Linked DNA regions of Homo sapiens: all the other regions are linked to region 2. Evidence: promoter capture Hi-C in 16 types of primary human blood cells and fetal thymus (Javierre and others, 2016). All regions are on one chromosome and are shown on one strand. The core of a region is centred on a gene start or on the middle of the fragment in contact, and the rest is flanking DNA. Distances in the headings are between cores, read along the strand shown. Region 1 holds the start of SOX4 (SRY-box transcription factor 4). Region 2 holds the start of TDP2 (tyrosyl-DNA phosphodiesterase 2). Region 3 overlaps MBOAT1 (membrane bound glycerophospholipid O-acyltransferase 1).

What was found. The method cuts DNA at HindIII sites, captures the fragments that hold promoters and counts their contacts. A CHiCAGO score of 5 or more calls a contact.
Region 1: a contact is called between the fragment with the promoter of SOX4 here and the fragment with the promoter of TDP2 in region 2, in 1 of 17 cell types (fetal thymus). The highest score is 5.5, in fetal thymus.
Region 3: a contact is called between a fragment that was not itself captured here and the fragment with the promoter of TDP2 in region 2, in 1 of 17 cell types (M0 macrophages). The highest score is 5.9, in M0 macrophages.

What each region holds. Positions count from the first base shown.
Region 1 is chr6:21,592,408-21,595,107 of GRCh38, forward strand. SOX4 (SRY-box transcription factor 4) reads left to right here and starts at 1,344. Exons shown (of 1, transcript NM_003107.3): 1 at 1,344-2,700. The coding sequence starts at 2,128. RefSeq lists a silencer at 1,955-2,134. The HindIII fragment of the contact is 853 bases long and covers 918-1,770 here.
Region 2 is chr6:24,665,509-24,668,242 of GRCh38, forward strand. It overlaps TDP2 (tyrosyl-DNA phosphodiesterase 2), which reads right to left and starts at 1,391. Exons shown (of 7, transcript NM_016614.3): 1 at 1,190-1,391; 2 at 1,018-1,103. The coding sequence starts at 1,354. It overlaps ACOT13 (acyl-CoA thioesterase 13), which reads left to right and starts at 1,569. Exons shown (of 3, transcript NM_018473.4): 1 at 1,569-1,836. The coding sequence starts at 1,756. RefSeq lists enhancers at 437-1,109, 1,110-1,781, 1,313-1,607. The HindIII fragment of the contact is 8,130 bases long and covers 299-2,734 here.
Region 3 is chr6:20,202,966-20,205,665 of GRCh38, forward strand. All of the region lies in intron 1 of MBOAT1 (membrane bound glycerophospholipid O-acyltransferase 1), which reads right to left. Among named protein-coding and RNA genes, the nearest start is that of MBOAT1, 8.2 kb to the right of the region's middle. The HindIII fragment of the contact is 4,589 bases long and covers 1-2,700 here.

The DNA of each region.
Region 1 (2,700 bases), core at 94-2,593, 3.1 Mb before region 2:
CATTTGAATTAGAAAGGAAGATATTAGTATTCATTGAGGGCTTACAATACATCAGGTGCTTCATAGTCACAAATTCATTGAACCCTCACAACAACCCTCTATAAAGTAGCTCCTAGTGTTCCCATATAATAGATGAGGAAAACTGAGACTTGGCCACATCCCCATAGTTACAAACCATTAAGAAGGATTAGCAGCCAGGTCTACTATGAATCCGGAGGCCCCATTCTCTTCTGCTACCAGTTATCACCTCCTTCTACAGTTTCTCTTTGCCTTGGTTTTTCAGTTCCCTTCGATTCAAGTAACAAGAGGAAATATATAAGAAGGAAAGGAGGAAGATGGCTTTGGGAGGAGGAGAGGGAAGAGAGTGAAGCAATCTTTAATTTTGAAAACAGGGAAAACAAATATTTAGAAAGTAAAACCGATTTCCATCCTTTACATGCCATTATACATCCTATACAAAACTCTGGAAATCTGCCTATTGAGGTAATTACGGAGCACTACCTAATGTGTTTCAAGGGAAAGCTCCCCTGTTTGGGCTATGCAGGATTTACAGGGAGTTTAAATCATTAAATAACCATAGTTGACCCTTGCTTGGTTAAGAGAGTAAGCAATTATTGCAAAGTCCTCTTCCCTGCCTTCCACAAACAGCACAAAAACGGTTCTGAAGGGATTTACACAATACATCAACATCTGTGCTGTACCTAGAGTTGTTAAAATAATTGTGATGACAGGTGTCTAGGTACCACTTTCTTAATGGTTTTCAATATCCATTGATTTATTGTTTTGTGGCTTTCTCTTCCCCTTTACAGCTTTGGCTTTAAGAAAGAGCTGGGGAACAGATTTTGCACCAGAGGCTGATTCTTTATTCCAATGCTGAAAAGAACTAATAAAAATAATCACTTGGCTTTTAAGCAGAAAGCTTCCATTTACAGTATTTCACCCTTACCCCGCCCCGTTCCAAGCCCCTTGTTATCTAACATAATGGTTAGAATACATTTCCGTCTCTCCCCTTAATAATTTCATGCATTAACATCCTCTTCACACACTATACACACACGCACGCGCGCACACACACGCGCGCGCACACACACAGCAAAAGGAAAAAAGAGGCAGCAGAAATCTCAGCTGTACTTCTAGCCCTTTTAAAAAGTTTGCTCTGTAAATTGGAATGAGGTCAGATTTGGAGCTTCTCATTGCACGCGGAGATTATTATTGCATCGGGTTCCAAGCCAATGGGAAGCCCGGGGGAGGGGTTTGGCATGAGGAAGCGTTGGTTACAGCAGCTGATTGGCTGCAGCCAAGACTGTGAAAGGATAAAGAGGCGCGAGGCGGAATTGGGGTCTGCTCTAAGCTGCAGCAAGAGAAACTGTGTGTGAGGGGAAGAGGCCTGTTTCGCTGTCGGGTCTCTAGTTCTTGCACGCTCTTTAAGAGTCTGCACTGGAGGAACTCCTGCCATTACCAGCTCCCTTCTTGCAGAAGGGAGGGGGAAACATACATTTATTCATGCCAGTCTGTTGCATGCAGGCTTTTTGGCTTCCTACCTTGCAACAAAATAATTGCACCAACTCCTTAGTGCCGATTCCGCCCACAGAGAGTCCTGGAGCCACAGTCTTTTTTGCTTTGCATTGTAGGAGAGGGACTAAGTGCTAGAGACTATGTCGCTTTCCTGAGCTACCGAGAGCGCTCGTGAACTGGAATCAACTGCTTCAGGGAAAAAGAAAAAAAAAAAAAAAAGACTTGCCTGGGAGGCCGCGAGAAACTTGCATTGGAAGCTTCAGCAACCAGCATTCGAGAAACTCCTCTCTACTTTAGCACGGTCTCCAGACTCAGCCGAGAGACAGCAAACTGCAGCGCGGTGAGAGAGCGAGAGAGAGGGAGAGAGAGACTCTCCAGCCTGGGAACTATAACTCCTCTGCGAGAGGCGGAGAACTCCTTCCCCAAATCTTTTGGGGACTTTTCTCTCTTTACCCACCTCCGCCCCTGCGAGGAGTTGAGGGGCCAGTTCGGCCGCCGCGCGCGTCTTCCCGTTCGGCGTGTGCTTGGCCCGGGGAACCGGGAGGGCCCGGCGATCGCGCGGCGGCCGCCGCGAGGGTGTGAGCGCGCGTGGGCGCCCGCCGAGCCGAGGCCATGGTGCAGCAAACCAACAATGCCGAGAACACGGAAGCGCTGCTGGCCGGCGAGAGCTCGGACTCGGGCGCCGGCCTCGAGCTGGGAATCGCCTCCTCCCCCACGCCCGGCTCCACCGCCTCCACGGGCGGCAAGGCCGACGACCCGAGCTGGTGCAAGACCCCGAGTGGGCACATCAAGCGACCCATGAACGCCTTCATGGTGTGGTCGCAGATCGAGCGGCGCAAGATCATGGAGCAGTCGCCCGACATGCACAACGCCGAGATCTCCAAGCGGCTGGGCAAACGCTGGAAGCTGCTCAAAGACAGCGACAAGATCCCTTTCATTCGAGAGGCGGAGCGGCTGCGCCTCAAGCACATGGCTGACTACCCCGACTACAAGTACCGGCCCAGGAAGAAGGTGAAGTCCGGCAACGCCAACTCCAGCTCCTCGGCCGCCGCCTCCTCCAAGCCGGGGGAGAAGGGAGACAAGGTCGGTGGCAGTGGCGGGGGCGGCCATGGGGGCGGCGGCGGCGGCGGGAGCAGCAACGCGGGGGGAGGAGGCGGCGGTGCGAGTGGCGGCGGCGCCAACTCC
Region 2 (2,734 bases), core at 141-2,640:
GAAAATAAAGTCTCCACTATGAACAGTCAATTTTACAGGTTGTACATATAGCTGGGAGAATTTTATACATTCAGTAAATATTTATTGGGAGCTTATTATGTGTCAAATGTTGTGTCAGACTTTGGGAAATTAACAATGTACAAAACAGATACTCCTTACTAGATGTGCAGTCTAGTAGGAGACATAAAATAATGAACAGCAATTATAATACGGACTAAGGTATTGTAACAGGGGTCATGCAGGATGCTATAAGAGTACCTAAAAGGGGACTCTTACCCAGACTTAGGACATCAGGAAAAGCTTCCTAGAGATAAATCATGTCTCAGCTTGGGGCTTTAAGACAAATATTAGCAAGGAAGGGAAAAGAAAAAAATTCCAGGCACAGGTAATAAAGATCTTTACGAAGTTTCAAAGACAGGAGAAAATGACCCGTTGGAAAAAAGTAAAAGTTTGATAGGCCTGGAACCTGGAAAGGCAGGTTCTAAGTTATGGAGCCAAATAGTAGAGGGCCTTGTAAGGCAGCTACACTTTTTAAGTGCAGGAACTGGAGAGGGGCACTGAAATAACAGGAGTAGGTGTGCATTAAAAAAAAATAACAACAACAACAAACCTGTTATTCTGGCCGGTCAGCCTAGGGCCTAGAATAAATAAACAATACAGGAAGCAAGGAGACTTCCAAGTTGCCATTTTTCGATAGAAGGTTTAGCCTTCGTTCATTTGTTTCAAACCTCTCGCTTACTTATTTCCTTTCATTTGAGTTAAACATTACATTTCCATCTTTTCCTCCCTGGACCCCAAATCACGTTCGAAGCGACAGTCTGGTGCAGTGTTAGATCCGCTGCTGGGGCGCAACTCCGCGCAGCAGCAGCAACGCAAGCCCTGCTCCTCTGGCTACGCAGCTTGGAGATCTGCCTCAGCATCGTCCGCCCAGCTCCACGGCAGGTCCCAGGACGCGCAGGGCTACCTGGTATCAAACTGCCTCCGTGCGGACTGGCTCCCGCTCCCCTCATCACTTACTAGGTCTTGGGCTCAGAGATGGTTTCAGGTCGGCGTTCCAAGGCGCTCTCCTCCACCGGAGGCTCGAAGTAGGAGTTCAGAGCCCTCTGAAAAACAAAGGCACAAGGGATGAGGTTTGTGCGCTCCACCGACCTAGGTAATGGAGCCGGAAGCGAGGACAGCGAAAGCGTACTTCCATCTCCCAGTCGTTCTCGGCCAGGAAGCACTGAGCCACTGCGGCATCGCAGCTTGCGACCGAGGCAAACTCCACACACAGAAGTCGCCGCTTTTTCACCTCAGGCTCGCCCTCTTCCTCCGCCGCCTCCCTCCCGCCCTCCAGGCAACTCCCCAACTCCATCTTCCTGCCGCCTCTGCACCGCCCCTTTAAGCGGAACAGGAGGCCAACGCGCGGCTCTGCGCAGGCGCCTGTGTCATGGCGCTCCCGCATCAACCGCCCGGCGGGGAAATGCGCTGCTCTCGGAAAACTGGTGCAGCTGCGCCGCAAGGGAGCCGCCGGGGCGGTGGGTGCGAAGCGCGCATGCGCGCTTCGTCACAAGGGTGCGAGGAAAGTCAGTGAGCAAATCGCGGACCACCGGGGCTGCCAGCTCGCCTGACTCCCGGCCTCTTGCGCTCCTAGGGGCGGAGAAGGGTGCGGGCTCTTCGCCCTTTGTGTCCTCCTTCTTTCACTAACTTCTGGACTTTCCAGCTCTTCCGAAGTTCGTTCTTGCGCAAAGCCCAAAGGCTGGAAAACCGTCCACGATGACCAGCATGACTCAGTCTCTGCGGGAGGTGATAAAGGCCATGACCAAGGCTCGCAATTTTGAGAGAGTTTTGGGAAAGGTATGGGAAAGGTAGGGGAGAAGCCGTGGCTTCTAATGAAGGAAAAGAAAGCACCGTGCTTGGTGCCGTTGTGAGCTTTGAATAATTATCTCTTGTTAGGTTGTGTTCTAGTACGCCTGTAAATTCACCTTAGTAATAATGATTATTACTTTAATGGAGCCCCTAAATATGCTGGGTCGAACGCGTAAGTTCTCTATCTAAACATAGATAAGTATGGTTATGACTCGTGGAGACAGTTCCAAGGCTGGGAGGGACTTTGGAGTTTGATCCTTCAACCAACAAACGTCTGCATTGCTCCAGAGAAGAGTAAGAGAAACCTCTGCATTTAAGGCACATTACAGTCTAATTCTCTAGGCTCTAGAAGATTAGAAGATAAATAATTGCAATAAGGTACAAAAGCCAAGTGCTTGGTAGAGTGGTGAACGAAGGGAGAAGTTGTTCCTCTGTAGTGGTTTGGGAAATTTCTCAAAGGCACCCAACTCCTGAAGAAGTAAGTTAGCCCTTGGAGGAAGACTGAGTGCTTTTCTGAGACCAGCACTCACAAAGCCCGAAGGTGTTTGTTTGTTTTTGTTTTTTTAGGATGAGGTTTCGCCCTTGTTGCCTAGGCTGGAGTGCAATGGCGCGATCTCGGCTCACTGCAACCTCCACCTCCCTGGTTCAAACAATTCTCCTGCCTCACTCAGCCTCCCGAGTGGCTGGGATTACAGGCATGCGCCACCATGCCCAGCTAATATTGTACTTTTAGTAGAGACAGGGTTTCTCCATGTTGGTCAGGCTGCTCTCGAACTCCCGACCTCAGGTGAAACGCCTGCCTCCGCCTCCCAAAGTGCTGGGATTACTGGTGTGAGCCGCCACGCCAGACCTTGAAGGTGTTTGTTGTTGTTGTTGTTTTGAGATG
Region 3 (2,700 bases), core at 1-2,500, 4.5 Mb before region 2:
TTTATCTCTTTAGATATAATCTTTTCATGAAATTTTCCTTTATAAATGTAATTCCTGGCTGGGTGTGGTGGCTTCCGCCTGTAATCCCAGCACTTTGGGAGGCCAAGGCAGGAGGATCACTTAAGCCCAGGAGTTCAAGACCAGCCTGGGCAACACAGTGAGACCCTGTCTCAATAAAAAATAAAAATAAAATAATAAATGTAATTCCAAGGCCAAGCTACAGAATACTTGAGAGTATTTGACTATATGGCATCTTTCGTATGTATGACTTGATTTTAGACTGCTAAAGGAAATTTCTACATGTTCACAGAAATCTGAAACAACTGGGCCAAAAAAAAAAAGATACTAATAGCTGCATTTATAACTGGAGGTGATGAGTATATCAACTGCACACAATGAAAATGGGAATAGAGTATGTCATCTTTAAATAACTCAAGATAAACATTTCACTACCAGCAAGTGAGCCATGAATTAACTTTCAAATTAGAAATTGGTCCCATTTAATCTGATATTCAGGTTCCAAATAATAAACAGGCCTAATTCAGTTGGTAAAAAGAACTGGCTCCCAATTTTATCTTAATTAAGTCATTCATTCCAATCCAAAAATGTAAATAAAATTCCATTTCAATTCAACAAACATGTATTTAGTTCCTACTTTGTGCTAACCATACAAAGATGACGAAGATTCATCTTCAGTGGTGGTAAATAAAATTAGTAAGGAGCAATTATTTTGGACCGAGCTCCTGCACCAGGCCCCAACAGACCAGACCAAACCAGAATGGAGTCACTGATGCCAGGAGCTATATAAACAAACAACTTTACAATGGGCCCGTTTAAAAAAAAAAAAAAAATAGGAGATTCACAGCAACCAACAGAAAAGGGGCCCAGTCTACCTGAGCCAGCATAAGGAAGTCCCATCTTTTTTAACCTTATAAGGAAAGTAACTTTGCTTGTTATTCTTTGCTTCTGCTTTCTTCAGCCTTTTCTACCTGTAAAGTCCACCTCTTCAGCTCAGCTCAGCCTTGCTGTTTTACAGATGGGAAGCTGCCTGATTCATGAATCACTAATAAAAGACAATTCCATCTTTAAATTCAATTTGTTAACATTTTCTTCTTTGATAATGATCACTACCCATAAAGAATGAGACTCTCTTCTCTTCCTCCTAGAATATTCTGACTGTCTCACCTGGCCCCTCTCCCCTCTAATTTCCCTCCTGCTTCTAAAGTAGCTGCTCCCAGGAAGTTCTCCCCTAGCACTGTCTCAGGAGAGGCCCAGAGATGCCGAGGCCCCGTGTCCTCTGGCAGTGGTGTGTGCATTGGGCACGTGATATTTCAAGGCTTACAGGCAAACAGCAGTTTACCAAGTATCTACATGTTTGTCTCACAGAAGGCACAGATAACTCACTAATCTCTGTATCTCCATTTAGCCCACTAGCATACAGCGCTCAGTAAGTAACTATGGAAAGATGCCTCTCAGAGTCAGGCAGGACAGAGAGACCAATAAATATCTAAGAAGTAAAGTAAAAGGCAGAGCAATGTGATATGGATAGGACGCTATGGAGAAACAGAGAGAAAGAAGGGGTCCATTTGGCCCTGGTGGGGAGGGAGGGCTGGGTTACAGAGGGAAGACGAGGAGAGGATTTTAGGGCCCAGCCTGAAAACAGGAATTGAGGACCAGGATGAGGAATAAACCTCCAAGGAGAAGGAAGTGTGTGTGTGCAGAGGCTGGAGGGTATGAAAGACACACTGTGTTTGAGGGATAGGAAGTAAAGAGTTCACTGTGCTGAAAGCACAGCACACAGGGAAAATGGTGCTGGAATGCAGTGCAGCAACCAGGAGCACGGCCTCCAGTGACAGACCTGAGTTCGAGTCCTGCCTCTGCCCCTTCCCAGCTACAAGCAAGTAACATAAGCCCTGGGGGCTGCTTCCTAACTTGAAATTTGGGGAACAGGCTGGGTGTGGTAGCTCACAACTATAATCCCCGCATTTTGGGAGGCTGAGGTGAGAGGATCGTTTCAGGCCAGGAGTTTAAGACCAGCCTGAGCAACATGGCAAGACCACATCTCTATAAAAAATACAAAAAAATTAGCCAGGTGGGGTGGTATGCACCTTTAGTCCCAGCTACTTGGGAAGCTGAGGCAGGAGGATTGCTTGAGCTCAAGAGTTTGAGACTGCAGGGTGCCATGATCAAGCCAGTGTACTCTACCCTAGGCAACAGAGTGAGATCCCATCTCAGAAAGAAAAGAGAGAAAAGGAAGGAGGAAAGAAGAAAAGAAAGAAGAAATTTAGGGAAAGAAGGAAGAAATTTGGGGAATAACTTTTAGTGCTGTATTAACTGAGAGAATGTATGCAGAGCAGTGCTGAGAGCGTAAGCATTCAATGTATGGAGTTGTCAGTGTCCTTAAGCCAGACAGGTAAACTGAGGCCAAGCTGTGAAGAATCACCTCTTGTTCCACAACAGGAAGGCTAAAGCTCCAGGACACACTAGGCCTTTGCTTCAAATGCCAGGGAATATATGGCCATACCTGTGATCTCTCTGTCCTCCCTTCAATTATCGTCAAATCTAGCCACTAGACTGTGACACCAGTCAGCAGTCTCTGGTAGGCCAGCCCATCTTCTGGACTTATCCAGAATCCCCCAGCATGGAGACCGCCCATCTTCACACAGGCTCTGAGGGACAGTCCCCAACTCCACCAGGCCT